3 separate regions of the Homo sapiens genome follow, and regions 2 and 3 are each linked to region 1. Evidence: promoter capture Hi-C in 16 types of primary human blood cells and fetal thymus (Javierre and others, 2016). All regions are on one chromosome and are shown on one strand. Each heading gives the region's core, a stretch centred on a gene start or on the middle of the fragment in contact. The rest is flanking DNA. Distances are from core to core; before and after follow the strand shown.

Region 1 (4,799 bases), core at 1,392-3,891:
TTAAGTCCCCACATTGTCCCTCTTCTGCACAGAATGACAATACCAATGCAAGGCAAAAAGAATAACATTGAGGAATATCAGTGCTATAATCATAGCAAAGAGGCAAAAAGCAGTGTCTGAAAAAAATTAATTTCTCAATTTATTCATATTTTTTAACTTTTGTATAAAAATTTCTAGGTATTAAATACTAACACCAAGTAGAAAGAAAAAGTTCTGGACGCCTGCTCTCCTGACTCAGGGGCTGGCCTCGATCAACTAAAAACTCTAATATCTCAAATTCTTCACCTGTTAAAATAGAGATAGCATCTCTTCTACCTCCATCATAAGGCTATTTTGAAGAATGAGGATTCACAGAAGGATTAAGTACAAAGCACCATGCCATGTAAGATATTCTTATTGGAAGACAGCTTTACGGAAGTGGAAGGACTATGAAATTTGCAGGGAGACTCACCTGGGTTCAAGTCCTATCTGTAACCCTAGCAGCTGTTCATTTGTTCCTCTGACAAGGGAGGAAGATCATTACATTGTAGGGTGGTGGGGATTAAATAACACTGCACGTGGAAAGCACCTGGCACACACTATACAGAGTGAATGTTAGTGCCCTATTATAAGCAAGGTTTTTCTGCAAAAAAAAAAGTTGCCCTTTTCAGCTTTGGCCTCAGTCCTATATACAAAGATCCTAGAATTCAGTTTGCACAAGGGCTTTTCAAAGATAAGTGCATAGCAACACAATCACATTATTCAGAAAATATTATGTTTCAGAACTGCAACTAGTCTATTAACCTCAAAACAAAACAGAATGTGCTTAGTTTCATGGAAAAGCACATGATGATCTGCCTGGCACAACTAGTGCCTTTTACATTTTATATTAACAAACCATGAGCTGTTGCCCAAACCCATTCACCAAGCACAAGACTTACAATCTAACATCCCATTCTGAGTTCTCACTGAGATGAACAAGAATTACCTGAAATCGGCCGGGCGCGGTGGCTCATGCCTGTAATCCCAGCACTCTGGGAGGCCAAGGCGGGCAGATCACGAGGTCAGGAGTTCGAGACCAGCCTGAACAACATGGTGAAACCCCGCCTGTACTAAAAATACAAAAACTAGCTGGGTGTGGTGGCGGGCGCCTGTAATCCCAGCTACTCTGGAGGCTGAGGCAGGAGAATTGCTTGAACCCGGGTGTCGGAGGTTGCAGTCAGCCAAGATCATGCCACTGCACTCCAGCCTAGGCGACAGAGCGAGACTCCGTCAAAAAAAAAAAAAAAAAAAGTCACCTGAAATCATCAAAAATGGTGTACTCATAGGGAGCCAAGCCCGGGCATGTTGCTTCTTGGCTCCCACAGGTGAATTTGAAGTGGCAATAGAACTTCGTTGATTCTTGTTTTTCTCATTTTAGTTTTACTCTCTATTAAATTGTTATTTTTTACAGTTCATTTATGGATGACAAGTTATTTCCTGTTGGTAGCTGCAATGATTGGGAATTTTGTGATCTCTGTAAACGAATTAATATCTCATAGAGATCTATTTCCTGTTGGATATGAGACAACAGAGAACACAGTTTTTGTCCATTTGTCTTTTTTAAGGTCAAATCGATTAGAAATTTCTTGCCCTCAAGTAAGGAGAACAACTCTGATACCTGGACTGGCAAGCTTTTGTGTTTCTGTGTTTATTTTTCATTTGTGGCTGAACTTGTAGAATTGAGGGTATACACATTCTATCTGTATGTCTATGTATCTGTAATTCAGAAAGTCCTTTATTTCTCATTGTGAGTATGGAATGTTTTCCTGTCTCCAGATGGTATTAATAAATTAGATGGTAAAGGCTCTTTAAAAATAAAGCCTCATTATGGGTTCATTTTCCCTCTCAAACTCTGTAGAACATAACCAGTTTGAAAAGCCTCTAGATTTGGGGGTGTAAAAATTCCATGCAGCTTGAGAGCCATCAGTCATTAAGCCGCTAGTTCCACCCCAAGTCTTGCTGTCCAGAAGCTCAGACAGTCCACTGGGCAGCAAAGAGGCGCTTTAGTAAGTTGAATTAAAGCCACAAACATGGCTGCTCCCTAAGGGAGATAATACTGTGTTAAAAAAAGAGAATTATTTATCTCTTCCCATTTCCTCCGCTAAATGAGGAGGTTAATAGTAAGACCTCCTTAGCCATGAGTGTTTCCGCTGCAGGAAACACCATTCGTGCCGGTTCTGGACTCACCACCCAGCGTGTACCAACGCCCCCAGCACCATCTCCCTGCTAGGCTGACAGACCCCTGGCGGATTTTGACCTCGCAAGAAATGCAAAAGCAACTTTGGGTTGCAGAAGCCAGGCGCCCCGACCTTACCCTCGCTGGAATTCCCGAAGACCTCGGCTGCACCAGCCACCCGGTGTTCGGATGCCAGCACCGCTACGACCAGCAGCTGCAGGAACCCCATTGCTGCCTGGGCCGGGCTGGGCCCACGCCAGGGCTGGGGAGAGGTGCGGGCGTGCGCGCCGGGGCCCCGCAGCCTCGCCCACGCTATCCCGGGGCGCCCGCATCGGGCGCCATCGCCCGCCAGGTGCAGACGCTTCGCACCTGCCAGCTCCGCAGCCGCCGGCGCGCGCCCCGCCGAACTCCTAGCCCCAGCGAGAGGTTTCCTCTTCCGGCACCTGACCCCCAACGCGCGTTCCCGCGCCTCCTCCCGGGCTCTCGCTGCGTCACAGCGGCGGGTCTCTGGGCGCGGGCGGCGCTGGGGCGTTTCCAGGCAGCGCGCGCCTCCTGCCGGCGCGCGGGGAACGCGCAGCCTGCGGTGCTCCCGGGAGCCCCCAGGAAGTCCTGGCTTGAGGCCCGGTCTTGCCCCACTTTTATCTCACCAAGTAGGCAAACCCACTGTGAAAGTACAAAATAACTTTCTGTTGCGGACTAACGTCGCCAGGCTCCTGTTTCCGTGTTTAACGGCCCTTTACAACAGCAAAAAAGAGGAATCAGTTGCTAAAAACACAATTGAAGGTTATTTCCCCCGGTAGCAATTGTCTTCGCTGCTGAGGCTTATGTTAGCATAAAAATGCCAGGAGAATGCTGTTTGTGTAGTGGTTACCGCACTAGTCATAAGCACTACATTTAAAAGTAGTTTCGTTTTCTCTAAGCGAAATATCCTCGAAGACACGGCCTTGGTCTGAACTTCGTCTCAAGTCTCATACCTGAGTGCTGTTTGAGGGACAGTAGTCCATGTGACAGATGGCTCATCGATGATGTGGAATTAGACGCATAGACTTAACGTTATTTGGGGAGGATTGTCTTGCTTTCCTTCCCTGGTTTTAATTTTTTTCACTTATATATTTTGATGAGCAACTTATAGCTTGGAAATTACATGTTCAGTTAGTCCACTACTAAGCTAACAATATATAGCTGTGACCATAATGTGAAGAAGTGTTAAAGACAAAATTATTCAATGATACTTGTTAAAGCACCGAACGAAGACTATTGAGGACTGTCTCAATTGGCATAGGGACCACTGCAACTGGGTCTTGCAGTGGGGAAGAGGGACTGGGCTCAACTCCGAATACAGCGTGGGCAAGAGGGAATTTATAGCCAACCAGCAGTATGGAGTTCAGTGGATGGAAAATTACTAAGAGGAAGCATCAGAGGTAAGGGGCATTTGGTGAAACTGACCTAACAGGACTTCTGAAGACATAACATCACCTGGGGGATGGTGCAGGGTGAGAAAACTGATTAGATATGGAGGAAAGGGGGTTCTTTGCTAAAACTGGATTTTTACAAAGAAGTGCACAGATGGACCTAGCAGAAGATTCAGAAGCCGTACTAGAGTTTGGCCAAGCAAATAATCTTTGTCATAGGCACAATTCTTTCTCTGCTTTCCCACTGCCTGGTCCAAATTTTCACACCTTTGGTAGCACTATCTATTTCTGTAGTGCTTATTCACTCTCCCACATGCCCCTATTCCTATAACCCTCAGTAGATGAAATCCAAGGAAGATGAAAGGGACAATTATGATAAGGGTAGCATCTGAATCAGTGGATGGATTATTCAATAAATTGTGTTCTTAACTGATTAGCTGCACTATGGGCAGAGAGAAGCAGAACTCTATCTCACACTAATTGTGAAAACAAAATCCCAAAGTAATAAAACCATAAAAGAGCTAGCAGAAGAGGGCGCTCTTTTTTTTTTTTAATAAATTGATCTCAAAATGGGAGGAGCTTTCTAAGAAGCAAAACAGCAAAGGAAACAACCATAAAGGAAAAGATTGGTAGACTTGGCTACGTAAATGCTTTTTACATAAATATTTAAATTTTATTAAAGTAAACACACAAACAATATGAAAAGGCAAGTTGACCAAAAAAAAAAAATTAGCAAAGGACATGAATGGGGAATTTCACCCCAAAAAAGAAATACAAATTACCAGTAAATACATGAAAAAAGTTCAATCTCACTAGTAAACAAATAAAAAAATCAAATTAACAAACTAAGATGTAAACATTTTAAAAGTATAAAACATCCAGTGTGGATAAAAGAGCTAAGAAGGAGGCATTCTTAGGTAGGGATACTGGGAATATACACTTTAATAAAGTAATCGGCATCAAAAATGTTTAAAAATCTTATTTTTGTAGATTTGGTATAATCCACTTTTAGATTTAAGTACATAATTAAATACACATATAAAAATTAGTATAAGCTGGGGGAAGTGGTATGCGCCTGTAGTCCCAGATACTCAGGGGGCTGAGGCAGGAGGATTACTTGAGCCCAGGAGTTCAAGAGGGCAGTGCTGTATGATTGCACCTGTGAATAGCCACTGCCCTCCAGCCTGGGC
Region 2 (4,845 bases), core at 381-2,880, 100 kb before region 1:
GCTGCCATGTGAAGAAGGACATGTTTGCTTCTCCTTCTGCCATGCCTGTAAGTTTCCTGAGGCCTCCCAGCCATGCTGGAACTGTGAGTCAATTAAACCTCTTTCCTTTAAAAATTACCCAGTCTTGGGTATTTTTATCTTTATTAGCAGCATAAGACTGGACTAATACAGGTTGTAAACAGAGAATGTCCTAAACAACACCCACAAATACTTAAGAACTCTTCCTCACATACACAACAATATTAAATAACACTGTACAAAACAGAGCTTCATTGGAAAATTTTTTTTTTTTCTGAAACAGAGTCTTGCTCTGTCGCCCAGGCTGAAGTGCAATGGTGCGATCTTGGCTCACTGCAACCTCCGCCTCCCAGGTGCAAGCGACTCTCTAGCCTCAGCCTCCCAAGTAGCTGGGATTACAGGTGTGTGTCACCATGCCCGCCTAATTTTGTATTTTTATTAGAGGTGGGGTTTCACCATGCTGGCCAGGCTGGTCTTGAATTCCTGACCTCAGGTGATCTGCTTGCCTCAGCCTCCCAAAGTGCTGGGATTACAGGGGTAAGCCACCACACCCGGCCTGGAAAACTTTTTATAAACCTAGTTACCACAGCTGTACCTTACCTTTTGATTTTTCCACTTGTGGAGTTTCATCCATTTCAACAAGGGGTTTTTTGTTTGGAGGTTCTGGGGAATCAGGCGAATCTTTTATAATCTCAGCTTCAGCCAATTCTTCTTTTCCACGCTCTAAGATTCCTTTTAATCTTTTAGAGGGACAAATAATGAAATGTAAAGTTCAAATTTTTAGAAGTCTAATGGTCTAATAATTAAACTAACTTTGCATATCAACCTTTATAAAAGATGGCTAATCTCATAAAATAAACCTAGGGACTAATCAAAAATCTCAATCTAAAACCAGGTAACAGAAATTAATGAATTAAATACAAGTTTCCCTTTTCCTTCATAATAATAATGCAATGATTCAGGAATTAGCTGTAAAATATAAAAAAAAAGAAGATACTTAAATTAAAATTTAAAAGGTAGGAAATGATGTGATCTTCAGAAGAAATTGCACAATTCTGATTTTTAAAGATAGGAACAAAATAACACTGAATTTCAAATTACAAATAAGATTAATAAGTTTATTCCCATTTATTCTCTAGTCTATGTATTGTGTAGATGTATTTATGTTCTGCAAATCAGAAACTTAACTCTAAACTTTTAGAGTTTCATCAGAGAACAAAAACACTTGCAAAATATACAAGAGTGTACTTGAAGCTCAGTGGGACCTAAATGATAGTACTTTTTCCCTCTTACAGTGAGCCAGTAGTGTTTCAGAAGCTCAGCAGCCCTAAGGAAAACATGAGCTTCTAAAGTCAAAGAGAATAAAAGTATTCTATTATTAATGGATACAATTACAGGATTTCCAGAATTAGCTTCAAAATATTCCTATGGGTGTAGTGGTAAAGGTAGTGGATGAAGATATATATGAAATGAGATCTGCCATGAATTGTTAATCATTGAAGGTAGATGATGAGTAACTATCTGTTCTTTTGCTACATATGTTTGAAATTTTCCATCATAAAAAGATGTGTTTTTCGTCAGTCGCAGTGGCTCATGCCTGTAATCCCAAGCACTTTGGGAGACCAAGATGGGCAGATCGCCTGAGGTCAGGAGATCGAGACCAGCCTGGGCAACATGGTGAAACTCCATCTCTACTACAAATACAAAAAATTGGCCAGGCATGGTGGCACATACCTATAATCCCAGCTACCTGAGAGGCTAAGGCATGAGAATCACTTGAACCCAGGAGGCAGAGGCTGCAGTGAGTCGAGATCATGCCACTGCATTCCAGCCTGGGTGATAGAGCGAGACTCTGTCTCAAAAAAATAAATAAAAATTAATTAATTTTAAAAAAAGTGACCTGGTGTTGGTCTGATTTCTGGCAAGTGGATAGAGGATATAGCCAGAGGATACGCTATTTCTATTTATAAGCCTTTATTACTTTTATGTTTTTCAGATTTAACGCTGACATCATAATATAAATCACAAACTAAAGGAAAAGAGTATACTATTAAGAAACATTTTCAGAATAGACTGTATGCCCTTCTTCTGTGCTTCCAAGGACATCCTATGCCTATTTTTATAATAGCACCTTCCACACTTTGCTGCAATCACTTTTTTTTTTTTTTGAGACAAAGTCTTACTCTATTGCCCAGGCTGGAGTGCAGTGGAGGAATCTCGGCTCACAGCAACCTCTGCCTCCCAGGTTCACGTGATTCTCGTGCCTCAGCCCCTTGAGTAGCTGAGATTACAGGCATGCACCCCCATACCCAGCTGATTTTTGTATTTTTTTAAGTAGAGACAGGATTTTGCCATGTTGGCCAGGCTGGTCTCAAACTCCTGACCTCAAGTGATCCACCCGCCTCGGCCTCCCAAAGTGCTGGGATTACAGGTGTGAACCACTGCACCCAGCCTGCAATCACTAATTTGTCTGTCTCTAGCATCACACTGTATGTTCTTCAAGGGTAGGGATCTTGTGCCAAATGCCTGGCACATCATAAGCATTCAGTAAATATTTAGTGAACAGAGGAATAAAATTATGTCTGTGAAGTTCACAACACATAAAGCACATACTGATACCAAACATCATGCATTATGATTTTCAGAAGTTAATTAGGAAAAACTAACACTAACTTTGCCCCAACAGTAAAAATTCATACTTTTTTGTGCCCAAGAAAGATCCTCTAGATTTTAAGAATGATAAAATTACAGTAATGAAAATGAATAAACATGTATTAAATGAACTACTATTAAATCAGGTTTGAATGTATGAAAGTGTTCTATGCAGAATGTGATATAACAAAAGGCACCATGGTGCTATATCAATGCCAGGAAGTCACCTCTCTGAGTCTTGCCAAGACTTTTCCTGTTCATAATCTTTCACTGCTTTCTCTGACTTGTCCTCTTTGTCTTCCCTCTTTCTTCCTCGTTTCTTTCGTTCTTCCTCTTCTGGGGGTTTGCTCCTGCATGCCATCAGACATTCCAAGACTCTTTGATGTTTCTCTGAGTTGTTGATATGGGCTCTGACAAGGGTTTCTAATTCATTCCACATGATACGGTATTGTTCATCTCTGCAGCAAAGATTTGGAAATACTCTTTAAATAATATTGAAGTGTCACTTTCTAGTGGTAAAGTAAAAACAAATAATGAAATGTGGACTTCCTTCCTCTTACTTGGTACTTAATAGTGAAATTCTAGGCTACAATATATCCATTTCTATGATTTTGTATTATTTCATCTCAAATATATATATAAACATGTCCTCAAATAGAATTTACATATGGAATAAGTTATCTTGAGAAACAATATGTATCAAGTAAATGTGATCTATAAAGTAAGAAAGAAAAAAAAATGTACCTTTTAGGGCCCTTTCCTCTTGTACCAACTGTGGAAATAGGTAGAGGATCATTTTTTCTTTCCATATCAACTAAGTTGTATATTGTTTTTTGACAGTTTAACACATCTTCTTCTGTCAGAGATTCTTTCACAATAACACTGGCTAATGGAACTACCTGTTAGATTTTTTTTAAAGAAAAAAGAAAATCTGTCTTGAAAAATAAATATCAAAACATCTAGGCAGAACTTGATTTTCGAAAGGATTTTAAAGATTATCATGGTGAAGGAATCTATAACTATCACTTCAATTTTTAATTATTAATTCTTTAACTTTAGCAAGCTCATATATTTCATTCTTTGCTTAAGAAATGGTATAAATTACAAATTGTCTAATTGATTTCTATAAAGAATATATAACTAATCTATAAGAAAAGTTGAAGCTACTTAACACTTACCGCTTGCATGTTAAAAATGGTGGTTTGTGAAATGATCATAGGCCAGTAACGGGTATGTTTTTCTAACTGATCTTTTGCTCGTTCCAAAGGGACCTCAAGACTTCCATCGATTTTATATCTGGGGTCTAGAAAAGGAGTTAATCTGTTTTCCCTCATAAATTCACCAAAATCCTAATGATAACCAAATAAGATAAAATTAGAAACTATGTCTAATGTTTCAGTATGGATTACATGTACTAGTCTGTTTCCCTGATGTCTTCTGTCCTGTGATGTGCAACAAAACATTTTTTCTAACAGTATCCCTTAACTCCACTACTTTTTTATCCTTTCTGAACTTGAAACCTATCAGCCTTTATATGATGAAAATGAAGAAAGCCTCAAACATAAATGCATTCATGGTATGTTTTCCCCACCTTTTGTAAAAACCAAGGAACACTTTTTTTCCCCTTCTGTAATTTAACTTTTCTATCACACACAGATAAAAGAGTCAGTTAATCACATTAGAAGACCCATTTGCTTATTTAAAAACTACCTTGAGGTTGGGCACGGTGGCTCACACCTGTAATCCCAACACTTCAGGAGGCCAAGACAGGTGGATCACCTGAGGTCAGGAGTTCGAGACCAGCCTGGCCAACATGGTGAAACCCCATCTTTACTAAAATACAAAAATTAGCTGGGCATGGTGGCAGGCGCCTATAATCTTAGCTACTCGGGAAGCTGAGGCAGGAGAATCGCCTAAACCCAGGAGGCAGAGGTTGCAGTGAGCCAAGATTGCGCCACTGCACTCTAACCTGGGCAACAAGAGCGAAACTCTGTCTCAAAACAAACAAACAAACAAAAAAACTACCTTGACATAACATAAACATGTCAACAATAGTTATCTGTGAATGATGAAATTATAGGTAATTTACAGGTGTGGGTGTTTTTTTACGATATCTATATTCTCTAAATTTTCTACAATAAATATTGATTAGGCTTCTCCTTATTTAAATATTAT
Region 3 (4,513 bases), core at 636-3,135, 110 kb after region 1:
TTCCAAAATTTAGAACATAGAATAGCTGATTAGAACAAAAAAAAAGTATAGGGCAACAGATGTGCTCTATTTTATTCCTTAAGATATCTTAATTTTCTTTCGACTCTAAGAATAACTTTTTAAAAAGTGCTATTAGTGTACATTTTGTAAATACCAACAACAGGTCACCTGATTCTGCCCATAAAAACAGACTGGCTTTTAGATTGTGCCTGAATGACCTACTGTGGCTTAAATCAAATAGTCCTTTAAGGGAAAGAATCTTGCACATAATTGATGATTTCTCAGTCATATTGGGTTATTCACTATAAAGGACTCAATAGCAATGCTACATGGAAAGCATAATGAAAGACATTCAAAAGCCACAGGGGTTAAGTATTTGACCTGAAGTGCCATCTGGTGGTTTATTTCAATCATTTCAGTTCCAGTTCTTGAATTAAATTGGGGAATTGGGCCTTTAACCCATTTATGCGTAGTGTTCCATTATTGGAACGCTAAGCTTGTGGGAGTTATTTATATCCTACTGCTCAATGTCATCGCCCAGTTCTGATTTTTCACAAAAAAATTAGCAACCTCCAGCATAAATGGGTTAATGGTGTTACTCACTAAACAACGAGGCCTCTTTCTAGGCATCCTTCTCAAAAATTGATGATGTGGCAGAGCTACCCTTTGTCTCGATACAGTGGTAAATACCATGCTTTTAATCTGTGATGGACACATAAAATCTAAATAGTGTCACAAAAACAGATTCAGTGGAGGACAGAGGAAAGGAGATATTTTGTGCCTAAAGGATATTCAATTTTCAGTAAGATGCACTCATATGCTTATGAGTTAACTGTGTTTATATCAAAACTAATGAGAATCGTATGAAAGAATTGTGATCTACTTTTGGATCTGTGGTAGACATGAAAACTGCTTGCTTTGGGAACCTTAAGAGTACATCCTACAGCTAAAACATTTTCATATGATGTGACACAAATATTAGAGCTCCCAGCCAGTCCTGTGCTGAATACTCTGTGTTCCCACCTGGTTTACCTCTGCGTTTCTGAGAGCGAATAGTACAATCTATCCTTTAGTGGGGGTGCAGCTATACAAACTGGAGTTATTTTACTTGTTAAAACACATAATGCCTTACTATTATACTTTCTATTTGCTCTACAGATTTCTCCTCCAGAGACTTAAGGGTCCAGGTTTGCTGATTTCTTTAGGGATTGCTTCATGCTCTGTACTTGGTGTTTCCTGACATATTCCTTAGTCTATTTCAATGTCCTATCTCACCCCTTCTTTACTCCATGTTCTTCTGACCATTTAGCATGCAGTGAAAAAGGAATTTACTATTGTTAGAAGAACGTATTTCTATCCCACACCCAGAGGCCACCAATGGCAATAGTAGCCGAAGCGTACCTGTAGTTCAGCTTTTGACATGTGTCTAAAACATGTCCATTAACATGTGCTTAATCTGTTCTGTGAAAGTATTTTCAGAAATGATAAAAAGTAATGATGGTTACATCTGAATATAAGTTAGATCATGACACTCACTCCTTTTTTCAGAAACTACCAATGGCATCACATCTTACTCAGAGTAAAAACCACAGTGCTTACTGTGGGCTGCAAGGCCTCGTAGGATTTGCTCCCCATGACTTTCTGACTTCATCTCTTGTCACACATCTCCTTATTCGCTCCACGCCAAGCACAGTGGCTTTTTCACTGATTCTTAAACATGCCAGGTACACTGGCCTCAGAGCCTTTGCACTGGCTTTTCCAGGCACTGGCTTTTCACTCTGCCTGGAAAGCTCTGTCCCTAGATATTTGCATGGCTAGCTCCCTCACATTCTTCTGGTATTTACTCAAAAGTTGTGATCTCAGTTAGGCCTTGTATCACCACCCTAACTAAAATTATACCCATTTATTCTTTGTCTTACATCTCCCTGCTTTATTTTGTTCTTAGCATTCACCACTTTCTTATGTGCAATGTATTTGTAATGTTTATATCATTTATTTTCTGTCTTTTCAACTGGAATGTAAGCATCATGAATCCAATTTTTGCCATTATTTTTAAAAATTTACTGTATCCCTGGTGTTTAGAAGAATGCCTGGCTCAGTAGTTATATTTGTAATGAATGATGCTCCATGAATGATAAAGTGGATTGCATGTTTGAATGAATGGAAGTTGTTTTAAATTTATTCCTTGGATGGGTAATGGCTTGTTGATCTGTGTTTTCAGTTGCTTTCTCTCTTACTATTTGACATTTTAACTTTGAGAATCCACAAAATGACAGATATTTTACAGAACTAATGAAGATTCGGTTTTTATCCTAAAAGTAACAATAACAAAATAAACTAGATGTAGATCCAGAGAGATAAGGGACTTTTGTTGCTGTTGCTAAATTTATTTATATCTATCTAACTTATCTATATGAATTCCTCACCTTGACCCCAACCTTCCAAATTAAGTGTGTTTTCTCAAGCACACAGAGAATGACAGGATGAAAGAAGAAAAACAGCAAAAGGCAAAAAGAGCAGGACTGGCTGTTTGGAACCATAAAAGCATAGGTGTGAAATTGAGTTGTCACCACACACCTACCACGATAGACTTTATTTTAGAACCAAAAAGGAATTTGGGCCAGCATTGGGAATCCAACAAGTAGAAGATTATATGCTTATAATTTAGTGATTTGCTGATAATATTAGATTTTTCCAATTTAATATTTCAGAAGTTGGGCTGTGTTTTATGATCTTAAAATGGGGATGTGTATACATTTTAGCTCAGATCCATCCTCCCTTCCTCTCTCCCTTCTTTCCTTTTTTTATTAATAAGATACTTAGAATAGTCAAATTTTAGAGACAGAAAATAGATTGGTAGCTGCCAGGAGCTGAGGGGAGCAGGGAATGGGAAGATAATACTTATTGTGCATAGAATTTCAGTTTTGCAAGATGAAAAGAGTTATTTACATGGACGATGGTGATGGCTGCAAAACAATGTAAATGTGCTTACTACCACTGAACTATACACTTTAAAATGGTTAAGATGGTTAATTTTACATATATATTTTACCACAATAAAAAATTAAAGTTGATGGCGTCTTAGAATTTAAGGAACACAGAATCCTAGCAAATTCCCCCTTCATATTGAACATGGGAAAACTGCCCAAATAAAAGAGATTATGATGTTTTAAAAAAGAAAGCAGTGAATGATAAGGCAGGATTATATCTATGCAGTTTCAAATGCAGGCTGTAGTGACAGCAGACCTGAATTTTAACGTTGGCCCTAACTCTTCAAAGCTTGTATGACCTTGTGAAAATGTCTGAAGCTCTGTGTCTTGGTTTTCTCATCTGTAAAATGGGGATGATTGTTACTGCCACTTAGTATTGTAAGGATCCTATGAACTAATGTATGCTGAGGGCTTATGAATACACCTGGAAAAAAGGCTAGTCAGAGAGGTAATACTGAAGAGTAGAGTGTAGAGAATAGAGGGAAAATGTTTAACAGCATCCCTTTGCAATGAGGGAAAGAGAATTAGGTCCAGTTACAAGGGGAATAAAGTTACAAACTACCCATACATAGTTCACTTCTTGTGACAAAAGAGTGCAAACGTTTCTCAGACTGAAGAGAAGCTTCTGGAATATTTTAGAAAAACTTAAATTCAAAAATTTTTGGAAATAATTATGTATCTGTTAATAATAACAGATATATAATTATGGTTCCATTCATGTTTAATGATGGCCAACTTGAGAGGCCCTGTACTTTAAGATGGATACTAACCTTTTCATTAGTGCAACTGGGCATTTGCAGTTCAAATTATCATTTTGCCTGGGCCGGGGAGATCCCCTGGTTTCTTCTAGGATGCAGGTTATTTCTTTACTACTAATTGCTCCTGCCTGTTTGTTTCATATGATCAGACACTGAATGAGATAAAATACCAACACTAGTAGCCTGTTACAGTGAAGGGACATTAAATCTATAAGAATGAATTTATTAGTGTAGCTCTAGGCTTCTGGAAATGAACAAATTTCTTTTAAAATTCAGAAGTGTGTCTCCTGTGGTTAAAAAAAACTGTAGACTATGACATATTTGTTTAATTACTGAGGCTGAATTTTCTGTTTTGATTGTGAGATATTATAATGTGTGAACACAGATATTAAAAATGGAGAATTATTTGCTTTATGAAGCTCTAGATGTAAGAAGGCAAATGTAAAAATATGTCTAATTGTTTGAGTTAAGCAAGTAGTTATTTACTTTAGGTCTAACTTGATGAGTTGCCCTAGAACATTCTTATAATTTTTTTTAACTGAGGATCATGACCTTGATCCATGTCAGCAGGGGATCAGGTAGTGAAATCCCGAAAGTGTCTGACTATTTGGCAGTTTTAATTATGAGGCCATCTCAAAGTCAGCAGAAATTACAAGAATACAATTTTCAAAAAAGTGAGTGAAATACTAATGGTGAATACTAATGGTAGTAACGCCAAAGCAGGCATCATCACCTATGAGATAGATAGAGTGTAAACAGGGGAAA

Evidence for each region. Contacts are between HindIII fragments. The CHiCAGO score rates a contact against its expected background, and 5 or more counts as called.
Region 2: a fragment that was not itself captured here is called in contact with the fragment with the promoter of TM7SF3 in region 1 in 5 of 17 cell types (neutrophils, M2 macrophages, monocytes and 2 more); the score reaches 9.8 in neutrophils.
Region 3: a fragment that was not itself captured here is called in contact with the fragment with the promoter of TM7SF3 in region 1 in 2 of 17 cell types (M2 macrophages and total B cells); the score reaches 6.5 in M2 macrophages.

The regions. Positions count from the first base shown.
Region 1 is chr12:27,011,743-27,016,541 of GRCh38, forward strand. It overlaps TM7SF3 (transmembrane 7 superfamily member 3), which reads right to left and starts at 2,642. Exons shown (of 12, transcript NM_016551.3): 1 at 2,336-2,642. The coding sequence starts at 2,426. RefSeq lists a silencer at 2,335-2,834. The HindIII fragment of the contact is 5,016 bases long and covers 1,651-4,799 here.
Region 2 is chr12:26,910,560-26,915,404 of GRCh38, forward strand. It overlaps INTS13 (integrator complex subunit 13), which reads right to left. Exons shown (of 17, transcript NM_018164.3): 12 at 3,849-4,019; 13 at 3,415-3,569; 14 at 2,898-3,128; 15 at 619-758. Among named protein-coding and RNA genes, the nearest start is that of INTS13, 25 kb to the right of the region's middle. The HindIII fragment of the contact is 9,163 bases long and covers 1-4,845 here.
Region 3 is chr12:27,123,432-27,127,944 of GRCh38, forward strand. It overlaps the pseudogene LOC124902904. Among named protein-coding and RNA genes, the nearest start is that of C12orf71, 43 kb to the left of the region's middle. The HindIII fragment of the contact is 2,783 bases long and covers 495-3,277 here.